Linked DNA regions of Homo sapiens: region 2 is linked to region 1. The links are contacts of gene promoters, found by promoter capture Hi-C in human tissues and cell types (Jung and others, 2019). All regions are on one chromosome and are shown on one strand. Each heading gives the region's core, a stretch centred on a gene start or on the middle of the fragment in contact. The rest is flanking DNA. Distances are from core to core; before and after follow the strand shown.

Region 1 (6,697 bases), core at 1,347-3,846:
GCTGCCCTCTGGGCTTCAGGGCCTCCCCACTGATAGGTGCCCTGGTCCCACACATAATAGGTGCAACAAGAAAGTGCCAACCTTGGGACATGAGTCCTGGTTCCCCCTCACTCACTGTGTGACCTTGGACAACACTCTTCCTACTGTCTGGGCCTCAGTTTCCTCATATGTAACATGAGAAGGTTGGGCTAAATGATCTCTAAAGGTCCTTTCAGTATTGAAGTGCTCAGAGAAAAAGCTTCATCATGATTAATAATACATGCCCTGCCCCTAAAGACAGCTTTTTCCCTTTTCCAAAGCTCTTTCACTCATAATATCACCTTTCATCGGTACAGCTGTCTGGCCTGGCAGTCACAAGCAAGCAGAACCTGGACACAGCCTTTTCACCTTGAAAACCTGGTCTAGCAACCCTCTTGCTCATCTAGACAGGCTTTGGGGGAATTCGCTTCTGGGGTGACTGTCACCAGGAGCCAATACATCAGAAATGCACAGAACCTAACTTGTACCTTCACCTCTGAGAAGCTGGGAAAGGCAGTACTTTCCTTCCAGGGAGCCAGAAGATGCAAAGGGGAAAAGCCTGCAATAGGCTGAGTTGCTGGTCAGAGGGCAAGACCAGAAATTCTGTGCCTGCAAAGAAACAAAGATCTTCCCTTGAAGAGGGAGGGGGAACATGGTGCTATAAATGTAGGACCCTCCCATTGGGCTCTGAAGTCATTAGAGAGCCTCATATCATCTGATTTGCACACATGTGTTCTTCTTTGATCTCTCAAAACAAATGGTTCAAGACGCGGGTAGAGCTAATATTATTATCTATTCCACTTTACAAATTGAAAAAAAAAAAAGAGAGACTCAAGGAGTCATGGCAAAGAGCATGGGCTTAAGAGGCAGACAGACTGAAGCCTCTTCCCAGCTGAGTGAAATTTACTGATTCTCTACATTGCCTTTAGCCTCAGTTTCCCCATCTATAAAATAGGCATGACCACACCTACCTTTCAGGATTGTGGTGAGGACCAGAGATGATGAATCCCTGACACACAACAGATGCTTAATAAATACTTGTTGAAGGAATGAAGGGGTTGGTGGCACTTCTGGGGTGTCATTGGAGGAGTGTAGTGTCCGGCAGTGACAGGTCAGCCCAGCCTGTGGGTAGACAGTGCTCCAGCTTCTGGCTGACTGCCTCCTGAGTCTGCTCTCAGTCAGGGGCCTTGGTGTCTCTTCCCTGTCTCTCTGCCTGGCCCATGCCAGGGTCCTGTGAAGGACTTTTTAACCCTTCTTGGCACTGAGATTTGCATTCCAATCATTCTGCTCACTCAGCCCATCCAAGTCTGGAGTTGTTTAGAGCTGGGCAAGGCCTGTGGGATCATCTGCTACGACACCTCGTTGAAAAGATAAGGAAACAAGGCTCTGAGAGGGTCAGTAATGCCTGAGTTTCCACTACCCTTCCCACCTCACCACCATAGCCACCATGTTTGACAAATGAAGAAACTGAGGCATAGGGACCCCCTCTCCTGCCCCAGTTCCCGCAGTCTGCCAGTGAGCCTCCTGCTCTGGGCCCCACCTGCCCAATTCCAGCTAGATCCCGGTTCTGCTGGGATGCCCTAAGGTGGTGGCAGGTGCTATCTCTGGCAACTCAGCCTAAGCCCAGCCTGGTGCACGGGTGCAAGACAGGAACCATGGGAGTCGGGACAGCCTAGAAGCCCCTGGGAGCGAAGCAGGAGGCCTAGACTCCCAGCCTGTGCCTTCTCAGCCAGTTCCAAGAACTGTGCTGACCTGGGAAGGCACACATTGCCTGAGAACAGGGCTTTCCCTTGGGTGTCAGCTCATGTGTGCCCAGGTCCACAGCTGGGCCCTGCCTGCTTCCAAGACAGCCAGAGTCTGGCCCAAGGGAGGAAGGAGTGTGGCCTGGGAGGAAGGAACGCTTGGCTGAGTCCCAGTGCTGTCACGAAATCACTGCGTGCCCATGCGTGTCACTTGACCTCTCTGGGCCTCCATTTCCTCATCCATAGGATAAGGGCAGGACAGCGAGGCCCCAAGTGCCTCCTGGCTGCAATATGCTGTGATGAGGGTGGAGGGTGGGGTGGGGAGGGGCTCGCTCTGCCTTCCTTGCCTTCCTGTCTGTTTCTCTGTCATTAGTTTATCTCCAGCAATCCAGGCCTCTCTGTCTCAGTCTGTTGCTCTCTCTGTTTCCATCTTTTGCTCTGTATTTTTCTGCCCGCCTCTCTTCTTTTTCTGTCTGAGTGCACCTCTGATTTTATCTCCTCCTCTGTCACACAGCCCCCTTCCCTCAGTCCTACACTGCCTTTCTCCCATTCTCCGTAGTTATCAGCGTTTCGCTGTCTAGTTTTCTCTGTCTCTCGGGCTCGCTCTCTCTCTCTTTCTCTCTCTCTGTCCTGCCCGGGCTCTCTCGCGGCCGCCCCTCCCGTCCCCTCCGCCAGCCCCCCTCCTCCCTCCTCGGCGCGTCTCCCCAGTCCTTATTTGGCTGGGCGGGAGGGCTGGCGGGAGGAGGCGGCCTGCGGGCGGGGGGCGGGGGGCGGGCGCGGGGCCGGGCGGAGGAGGGCGGTGGGTGGTGCTGAAGGGACAGCTCCGCGGCGGCGGCGGCGGCGGCGGCCCCGGGCGCTGAGCGGGTGCCCGGCGCGGAGAGCGGCGAGCGCAGCCATGCCCCAGGCCGCCTCCGGGGCAGCAGCAGCGGCGGCCGGGGCCGAGGCGCGGGCCGGGGGCGCCGGGGGGCCGGCGGCGGCCCGGGCGGGACGATGAAGCGGCAGAACGTGCGCACGCTGGCGCTCATCGTGTGCACCTTCACCTACCTGCTGGTGGGCGCCGCGGTCTTCGACGCGCTGGAGTCGGAGCCCGAGCTGATCGAGCGGCAGCGGCTGGAGCTGCGGCAGCAGGAGCTGCGGGCGCGCTACAACCTCAGCCAGGGCGGCTACGAGGAGCTGGAGCGCGTCGTGCTGCGCCTCAAGCCGCACAAGGCCGGCGTGCAGTGGCGCTTCGCCGGCTCCTTCTACTTCGCCATCACCGTCATCACCACCATCGGTAACGGCTCGCCGGGCGGGGGGCGGGAACCCAGGGCTGGGCGCGGGGCTCCGGGAGTCGTCCGGGGCCGGCTGGGGCTGGGGGCGGGGGCTCCCCCGAGAGGGGCTGGGCGCCGAACCCTGCGCTCGCAGAAACCCGAGTTCAGCCTGGCGTGTGTGCTCCGCGGGGACGGAACTCGGGGAGGCGTCGATTCCTGGCTCCGGACCTGACTCTCCGGCCGGGCCAGCCCTAACTTGGCCCTGCCATGTTGCATAGGCCCCCAGGGACTCCGAAGTGTGTGAGAGGGGCAGGGACGACCGGCGGAGGCTCGGGCAGGAGGGGTGTGGCCGGGCCAGGCCCTGAACAGGGCGCTGAGAGTGAGCGGCGGGAGAGCGCCAGTGCTCCGTATCCCTGAGGATCGGCTTCCACAGCCTAGCAGGTCTACACCTGCTGGGCTCTGGGGAGGCATGAGGATGTCGGAATGCGGCACTTCGGGGCACTTGGGGCCACCCTATAACGGCGGCTGTGAGTGTACGTGTGTCTGCGTGTTTCAGCTCCAGGAGTTTGGTCGCCACCAGTCAGTGCCTGTGATTTTCTCAGAGCGGCAGAATTGGTGCGGGAAGCCAGATCTGGCCTTGTCAGCCTTCTTCTCTGCTGTCCCAGCAAAACAGTCACCTCACAGGAATAACCCCAGTTCTTTCCAAGCCAGGGCAGATCACCATGTAGGAGGCCACACGTACACCCAGACTGTCAGACAACACAGGCATAGGCACACATGCACACAGATACACACAGGCACTCACAGGGTACACACAGGGCGGGCACACACACACACACACACAGAGAGAGAGACAGAGAGAGAGAGAGAGAACAAACGTTGCCCAGGAAAGGAATCTCTAGCCAGGCCCTTGGTGGTGCTATTCAAAACTGTCCAGACGGGAATAACACCTTACCTGTCCCCAACACCCTATGATTTCAGCCCAGCTCCATCACTACCGTGATATATGACCTTGGGCAAGTCCCTTCCCCTGTCTGGGTCTCAGGCTCACCTCCAGACAAGGAGGGGTGGCCAAAATGATCTCAAGAGCTCCTCCCCAGCCCCGACGTGCTTGGATTCTGAGATGAAACCCACCTTCCCCCAAAGCCCATTGAGATGCCTCCAGAAGCAGTTTCCTCTGTCTTTACTGTTCCCTCTCCTCTCCCTAGTCCCCTTCCCTGCCTTGATCAGACTCCCAGGGGTTCGTTGCCACTTAGCGCAGCCCATGAAGATGGCATTGTTTTCCTGGGAGTCAACAGGAGCTGAGGGAGTAAAAGGCAGGACTAGACACTCTTCCTGCGGTCTATCCACTGCAGGACACTGTTCCAAGAATCTACGGCTCCCTGGGGACCATGGGGAGCTATGCTGTGTCGTTTCTGGATTCTTCTCTTGGAAGAGGGAGGAAAGGGCCCTGGGAGTGGATGTGGCCCAGCTGGGGCACCTCTGGGTCCTACTGGTCCTGTGAGTTTAGGATAGGATGATCAGACTTAGGTCTGCCCAAAGAGGAGCCCGCTTCCTGAAAAACACCAGCCCAGATTTGGTCTGCAGTCTCTTCCACTCTCACACCCCACTACTATTTGCCAGGGTTTCAGTAGCTGTTTAGCTGTCTGGAGAATCAAAAGAATCAGACTGAACATCTTTGGACCCTCTCTCTCCCTCTTTTCCACACGTCAAGCCTTCACGCGTGTCCCCTTTCCTTCTCAGGCCCATGGTCCCCAGCTTCATAGTAACCTCCCAACTGACCTCCCTGCCTACCCCACAACAAGGCATGCTCCCCTGGACAATGCTGCCAGAAAGAAAAACTCAGCTGTCACCAAACCAATTCCCTTCTTGGAATCCCTCAATGACTCTCCACTGTCCATGGAATCTGGTCTATGCTCCTTATCTCAAATTTTGAGGATCTCCATACCTGGCTCCAACCTCTATGTCTGACTTCACATCTCACTTCTTACTTATGTGATCCCTCTCGATAGCTGCCAACCTGTCCTCTGAGAATACCTTAAGTATGCCTGTCTGGCATGCCTTTTTCTCTGCCCTTTTTCTTTTCTTTTTTCTTTTTTTGAGAGAAAGAGTCTCACTCTGTCTCACCCAGGCTGGAATGCAGTGGTGTAATCATAGTTCAGCACAACCTCAAACCCCTGGCCTCAAGCGATCCTCTCACCTGGGCCTCCCAAAGTGCTGGGATTACAGGTGTGAGCCACTGCGCCTGGCTCTACCTTCTATTTATCTTGTCCATGCTAACCTTCCAGGTCCAGCTCAAATCCCCCCTCCTCCTCAAAGCCTCCCAGGCCACTGCTCTGGACAACTGCAGGTCTCACTGTGAGGATGATCTGGGTGACACGCTGTTGGCTGTTTTGAATGGTTATTTGCATTATAGGGGAAGTGTTTTGTCTCTTTGACCACACTGTACTCAACCTCCATGTGGGCAGGTCCTGCAGTTCCTGTCTCTGTGCTCCAAGTGCCAGCATAGTACCCAGAGGCTGTGAGCACACACAGAATGCTATTGATGGGTTTAAGGTGTGCAGAAATGAAAGGGTAGCATCCTTCCCTCTTCCTCTGCCGTTTCCCAAAGTGCTTGCAGTCCTCACCAAGAGAGACGCTAAAAGCCATGGGGGGAGAGGCAGACAGAGTGCGGTTCTGGTGATTATTTATTTATAAAGTGCTGGGCAAGAGGAAAGACAACATCAGACCACCCCCCTGGTTCTGTGGGGGCCCCTCCCTCCCTGCCCCACCTGACCATCCTGGCTTTGTGTTGCCTTCCACTGTGGCTATGCCACCTTGCTGGAAGCTGTCCACAGGGGCTCTGCTCTAAGAAAAACCTATTTGGGCTGTGATCAGATGGTAGAAAGGGGCCTTAGTTAGGCTGATAATGGCCCCAAACCCAAGGGCAGCAGCCTGTGTTCACCTGACCCCTTTGAAAACATGAATGAGTCTCATTCTGAGATACCGGGTGTCCCATTGGGATGGAATAATGACAGCACTTCCCATCATTTGCTACCTTAGTGATCACAATGCACTTGCATCTCTTGTCATGATTCTCAGTCTTCATGACTTGGTGAAGTTGCTGGGCAGGTATTGTTAGCTCTGCTGCATGGATGAAGGCGTGAAGGCTCAGGGAAGGGAAGCGGCTCCCCCAGTCACCCAGCTGGTAAGCAGCAGAGTCAGAGTGGGAAGCTGGGTCTTCTGACTCCAAGCCCAGTGCTCTTTCCCTGCTGGTCTTTTGGCTGCTTCCTTTGACTCCATATGCTATGAAGCTCAGACCCAGCCAGGCCTGACACAGCCAAGCCGTGCTTAGTGATGCCAGCTCACAGGGTGCTCATGGGCAGCCCTGATTGGTTGGAGGTCAGCAGGTTCTTTCTTAGTCATTCACCTGGTTAGTCACCGTCTCCACTGGCTGGAAGGATTCCTCCAGCTCCCTATCCCTGGTCTCCCAGCCAGGAAACCCTTCCTTTGCTGGTGCCCTAAGTTCACCCAACAGTAATAGAAAGTCATTTCTTAGGAAGTCTTAACCACTTTAGCTGTTGAGTCATTAAACTCCTCCAGGGCCCAAGCCTCATCTATTCATAGCTCAGAGGCTGTCAGAGCAGGAAGGGGCTTCGGAGATCAGCTGGTACCACCCCCTGCTCTGACAGATAAGGAGTCAGAGAG
Region 2 (6,251 bases), core at 148-2,647, 47 kb after region 1:
TGACCTGGGCATGGCCCTTCCCAGCCCGTTCCCAGCTCAGACTTGAGCCCCTTCCTCTCTCAGGCACCTGTCCTGTCCTTGAAGAGAGGGAGCAAGAGGGCTGTCCCTTATCACTCAGGACAGCCTCCAAGGACTGAAATGTGCCACAGGAAACTTGATGGCCAGGGCTCTTAGATCAGTTGGGGCTGAGGTGTGTGGAGCAAACAATAGATATGAAGCATGTGCGAGGAGCTGGGCTAGGAGTGCTACTCAATTCTCCCAACACCCCTGCAGAGGGAGGTACAATTATCCCCATCCAGAGGTGAGGAGACTGGGGCTCAGGGAGGTCACCTTACTTATCCAAGGTCACCCAAGTGGCAGAACCAGGTTTCGAATCCAAGGCCACATGGCTCCACCTTCCACATCCATCCAGCCACCACAGTCTCTGGCCCTTGGGGCCACATTGTTTTCTTTGCCTTCCCAGGTGTGCCCCCCAACCTCATCCCTGCCCCTGAGCAAATGGGGATCCCAGATGCTGCTTCAGCAGCTTCTGGAAGGCAGAGTAAGCCAGAGCCCATCCCTTCCTGATCCTCCCTTCCCAGAGGGAGCAGCAGGTTGGTGGGGTGACATCAGGCTGTGGGGGAGCCACTTCATTGTTCCTGAGACCGAAGTGATTTGGAGTTAATCTCCAAATCTGGTGCCACAGACACAATAGGAACCCACTGCCACCGCCCCCTCCAGCCTTATCATGGTGAACAGATGGGCAGACCCCTCTCCGGGGTCTAAGTAGGGCATTGCTGAGGTTGCTGGGAGGCAGGGAGGGAGGCCAGTTGGCCATGGTGGGGGAAGGGGACAGTGGAGACAGTAGGGGTGGGACAAACCCAGCCCCACCCCACCCTTCCCTAGCCCCCCAGGGTGGATGGGATTCAAGCGTCAGCGCTCTGCTGCCACAATGGGCTGGCTCCAGCAGATCCTCAACACGCATTTCAGGGGACCCATGCACCCAGTCAGGCGACCATACAGACAATGCTTCAGGTCCTTTCTAGCTCCAAATTCTGTAGCCTAAGCTCACCGGAGCTGAGGGTCTACAAACTTACCACTTGAATTCCAGAATGAGGCTTGGGCAGTGCAGAGCCCAGCACCCCCAGGTCCTGAGCAGGCCCAGCCTCTGCCATTGGCCCTCACTGTCACAGGAGCACAGCATTAACAGAGAAAAATGAAGGAAGCCAACTGTTAAAGCCAAGGGCCCCTAGGAACTGTGAGTCCAATGCTTCATGTTTCAGAAGAGAACAGTAAGACAAAGAGGGGAGGGAGGACGGGCGCGGTGGCTCACGCCTATAATCCTAGCACTCTGGGAGGCCAAGGCAGGCAGATCACCTGAGGTCAGGAGTTCGAGACCAGCCTGGCCAACATGATGAAACCCCGTCTCTACTAAAAATACAAAAAAGTTAGCCGGGCGTGGTGGCGGGTGCCTGTAATCCCAGCTACTCGGGCGGCTGAGGCAGGAGAATCACCTGAACCCAAGAGGTAGGGTTGTAGTGAGCCAAGAATGCACCATTGCACTCCAGCCTGGGCGACAAGAGTGAAACTCCGTCTCACAAAAAAGAGGGAGGGAATGGGCCTCTGGGCTCCCTGGCTAGCGCTCTCCCCTATCTGCACCAGCTTCAAAACTCTATCTGTAACAGGCCAAAACTGGAAACAGCCTGCGTGTCCATCCACAGGGAAATGGATACATTAGCCGGGTATATGTGTGGCAAGGAATACAATACAGCCATGAAGAGGAAGAAGCTATTGAAACACACAAAAAGCAGAAGGAGTCAGACAAACAGGGGCACATATGGAAGGATTCCATTACTCTAAAGTTCCGGAAAACAGAAGCTAATCTAGAGGGGCAGAAAGCAGATGAACAGTTGCCCTGGCCCAGGGGAGGAGGCTGGGATTAAAAAGGTGAGCAGGCCAGGCGCAGTGGCTCACGCCTGTAATCCCAGCACTTTGGGAGGCCGAGGCGGGTGGATTCCTTGAGCCCAGGAGTTCAAGACCAGCTGGGCAACATAGTGAGACCCAATCTCTACTAAATAATCAAAAAAATTAGCCAGGTGTGGTGGCACGCACCTATGGTCCCAGCTACTCAGGAGGCTGAGAAAGGAGGATCACCCGAGCCCAGGAAGTCTAGGCAGCAGTGAGCCATGATTGTGCCACTGCACTCCAGCCTAGATGAGAGTGAGACACTGTCTCAAAAAAAAAAAGTTGAGGGGGCAGGGGGCGGGGAGCAGGAGGGGAGCAAGGGAAGGTTTGGGGCGAAGGATGCATTTGCTCTCTGTTATGGCTTCACATGTATATACATCTGTCAACTTACCAAATTCTGCATTTTAAATATGTGTAGTTTATTTTATGTCAGTTTTATCTCAAAGAAGCTGTTTAGGAAAAAACAAACCATAGAGGCTTTGCACACGGCCCAGCAGATGAGCTAAGCACTCCCACCTACACCCATTTTGTTCTGATGGCCACGGTAGGGGGTGTAAGTCCCCCATGCCTCTTTATGAGAGGGTCAGCGGGGAGGCCATCAATGCTTCTGGTCAACTTCTGCCCACCCCAGACCAGGCCAGCTGTCGGCACAGGTGTCGCTAGTGTCACTCGAAGCTGGACACATATCAGTATATGGATGTAACAAGCAACCATGAGGTCCCCATGGGGTGTTGCTGGCACAAGCCAGACATCAAGCAAAGGTCAATGGGGCAGGAGCTAATCTAAAACACTGTGCCTCTGCCTAGGCAAACAGGGTCTCTCAGGCCCTAGCAGGCTGAGGGTAAATGGAAAATCCCCAGAGCCCATGAAACCCCATTTCTTTGGCTGTTTCTTCGCCTATTAAAATTACTCTCCCATCTTTTTCGAGGAGTCCCAAAGGGTCTCATCCCATCTAAACCACTATGGGGTAACCTCTGCCTAGGCTGGCACGCACACCAGGGTGAGGGACAAGGCGCCATGTGGCCCAATCGTTCTGCCACCTGCCGCTTGGGGCTGGAGCTGCTCAAGGAGACAGGCTCCTCCTCGCCTACAGCTGTCAAGACAGGCGGACCATCCTGCTGCTCAGGCTGCAGAGTCTGCCCCAATGAGCACAGTCCTCAAACCCCACCCACCTACTGTGACACTCCCTCCTGCAACTTCAGAGCATGTTGTCTGGTGCTCCAAACTTTCGTGGTGGGTTTAGTGAAAACGCTTTGGATTTGTACTCACAGCCCCCTCTCTGTGACTTAGCCCTCTCTCCTGAGTGCATGAGGACTGGGCTGTGTGGCAGGAACCATACAAACCTCAGTGCTATGCTCTGCTATGCTTTTATTTCCCTTGTGGTCTGCCTGCTTCCCTTCAGATGAGGCTGGCCAAGAAGCACCACAGACCCTGATGCAAAATTGCCCCTAAAGCACTTCAGCCCGACCAGTCAGGTCTGCATTCCTGGATAAGCCCAATGCTGACCCCATGGGGACCCCCACTCCCTTCTCCAGTACTAGGAGCTGGGCCCCAGGGAGGGACTTGGATAGGACCCGCTCGTGTCTGCCACCATGAGTGTGAGCACAGGGCTGATGGAGCTTTGCAGAGAGAAATGAAGGTCAAGGTGTGTGGGCTGAGTGCCAAGTGAGACAGAGAGGGCTCCAAGGCTGGGGAGGTGTGGACATGGGGCCGGGGCTGGGCCTGACTGAGCCTGGAAGGAATGGTGGGATCTAGCACATGGCAACAGCATTTCAGGTGTAGGAAATTGAGCAAAGGCCCCATAGGGGAATGTTCCCAGAGTGCTGGAGAACAGTGAGAAGAGCCCGGGGATCTCCTTAGGAAGGGGAGGGAGTGGGCTCCATGAGTCCGGGGCTGTGTCCATCTCATTTGTGGTTTTATCTCTGGAGCTTCATGCCATACCTACACTTAATAGGCATCAAAGATGGTTGTGAAAGTGTGGGGAGGAGGGAAGGAGTAAGGAAAGGCAGGGGAGAATGGAAGAGACATTGGAGGCATCCACCAGACAGGATGTTCAGCTCTTAGCTGTTACTCACAGGCAACAGGGAGCCAGCAAAAGTTTCCGAGTGGAGGAAAATTTCATGGAATTTAGAGTTTCTAGAAGATTCACCTGGCATCACTCACTCCTGACAGATGTTCGTAGCCCAATGCCTGCGCTCTGTAAGATCACTCTCTCTACACCAGCCTAGGCAGGGGAACGGCAGGAGGGCACATAGCAAGCCCTTCTCTGTGGGCTGGGAGGGCCCGGGATGCCCCAGCTGTTGCTTCCAGAGCTGAGAACAAGCTACTCCCCTGCCTGGCAGGGAGGCCAAGGAGAGCCTGTGGCACAGCCAAGGGAGAAGATTGTCAAAACACTGTAATGGAATCTTCCGGGCTGTCCTCAGCCTCGCATTTGCACAGCGGCCTCCAACTCAAGAATCAGATGTCCTGATAGTCATGCCAGTGGCCTCGGTGGCCCCAGCAGCCCTGCCTTCAGGGCAGGGAGCAGGAGCCGTGACGGGCAGGAGTGTGCTGAGGCTGGGATGGGCCAGTACCACCTGTCCACCTGGCTCCCTCACCACTTAACAGCTTAGGAGCCTCGGAAGGCCCACAACCCACCCCTAGGACGCCACCTCCCATGGGGTCAGCCCATGGCTGGGAGTGGTTGGGGCTCCAGGATGCTGAGGGCAGATCACTGCCGGGGCCAGGCTGCTGTCAGGCCATCCCAATCCAAGCATCAAAAGTGAACAGCAGCTCCCACTTCCCCCTGCTCTGGGCTGCAAAAATGGACCTCGTAATCGACCATACCAGCACAGTACTTACTTTCTAGTGGACCCTTCCTTCTGTCCACTCTCTGAACCTGTGAGGTGGGCAAGGCAGTCAAAATCGTGCCCACTCTGTGAATGAGGGCTTCATGCTTCCACTAGGCCAGTGGACCTGTCTAAACCCCACGGCTAAAATGCTTAGGAAGGGGGAGCTTCGGCTCCCCAGCCAGCCTCAAAAAGGGCCCTCAAAGCGTGAGGAATGGATCTTCAGTGGAAATGTACAGAGTCTCACAGTGGGACCAAGTATGCCTGCCTTTATAGAAAGGACCTACAGGGACCACCTCTTCCTCCCCTCCATTTGCTAATAAGGAGGATCGATACAGAAAGCTCAGATAAGCTCAGAGTCACACCAGAAAAGTAACAGAGCCAGGCTAAAGCCAAAAAGCCACTCTGATTTGGACAATCATGGAGAGGACTTCTCCCCTTCCTTCTGGTTGGTTCATGGTGAAAAATCTGACCATGGCATTCAGACAAAGCCTCATGTTCATGAGGAGACCCTGAAAGCAGTCAGGAAGTCAGCCGAGGTCCCCAGGGGACACCTGCAGCAGGGCCATGAAGGATGACATGGTTCCCCTTCCCTGCCTCAGTCAGCACAGAGCAGAACAAATCCTCATGCAAGATTTGGCCAGAGCTGGAAGGAGCCCCAGAGGCATCTCAGCCTGCCTCATTTCACCCCTAGGGAAACTGAGGCCTGATAAGGACCCAGGAGGCGGTCATGACCATCTGTACTTTCAGTTGCCATAAGAGACCAACAATCCGGGAGCGATCGGGACAGGTGAGCCAAGGAGGTCCGCAGCAGGGGCAGGGGTATGTGTGGGTACTGTTACAAAGGGCATAGGCCTAGCTCACTACCTCCCCTATTCTCACAGCGCAAGAGACACTCTGAGGCCTGTTGCCCGAGGGGCCTGCGGGCCAAGTTCAGATGATCTAATACAAGGAAGAAAACCACTACCTCTGTTGAGTTTCTATCAGATGCCAGGCAGGAATCACCATGCCCAACTTACAGGTGAGGCCCAAGTGGCTGAGTGACTTGTCTGAGGTCGCCCAGGAGGTAAGGAGCAGAGCTTGGACTGCAAATGCAATGTTCTCCCACTCCACCTCCTTCCCCTCAGACCTAGAGGCCGCCCTGCTACTGCTATTTGCTTTGGGATAGTGTTGCCCTACCTGCCTGCTCAGCCTGCACCCCTGAGGTAGGGCCCTGTGGCCCCTGAGCCAGCTCCCTCCCATCCATGCTCTGGGGTCTTTCCATGTCCTTGTCATCCCCCAGCCCCTGCTGGAGGGCTGAAGCAGCTGGAACTGCTTTTTCCCACCAGGCCTGTCAGGACCAAGTCACCAGACCTACTCTCTCGAGAATCACTGCGTAATGGCCACTGGGAATCTGCATTTTAACAGGAAAGTTCTGGAAGCACTGTTTTGGAGAAATAAAGACTGGGATCTGCTGCTCTCAGGAAAGACTTTAGTTCT

The links. The method cuts DNA at HindIII sites, captures the fragments that hold promoters and counts their contacts. A contact is called where the count stands out against the background at its distance.
Region 2: a fragment that was not itself captured here is called in contact with the fragment with the promoter of KCNK3 in region 1 in 4 of the 25 tissues and cell types used here (aorta, heart right ventricle, neural progenitor cells and 1 more).

What each region holds. Positions count from the first base shown.
Region 1 is chr2:26,690,126-26,696,822 of GRCh38, forward strand. KCNK3 (potassium two pore domain channel subfamily K member 3) reads left to right here and starts at 2,597. Exons shown (of 2, transcript NM_002246.3): 1 at 2,597-3,033. The coding sequence starts at 2,751. The HindIII fragment of the contact is 34,558 bases long and covers 1-6,697 here.
Region 2 is chr2:26,737,965-26,744,215 of GRCh38, forward strand. No RefSeq gene overlaps it. Among named protein-coding and RNA genes, the nearest start is that of SLC35F6, 23 kb to the right of the region's middle. RefSeq lists enhancers at 1-470, 471-971, 4,487-4,992. The HindIII fragment of the contact is 8,347 bases long and covers 1-5,571 here.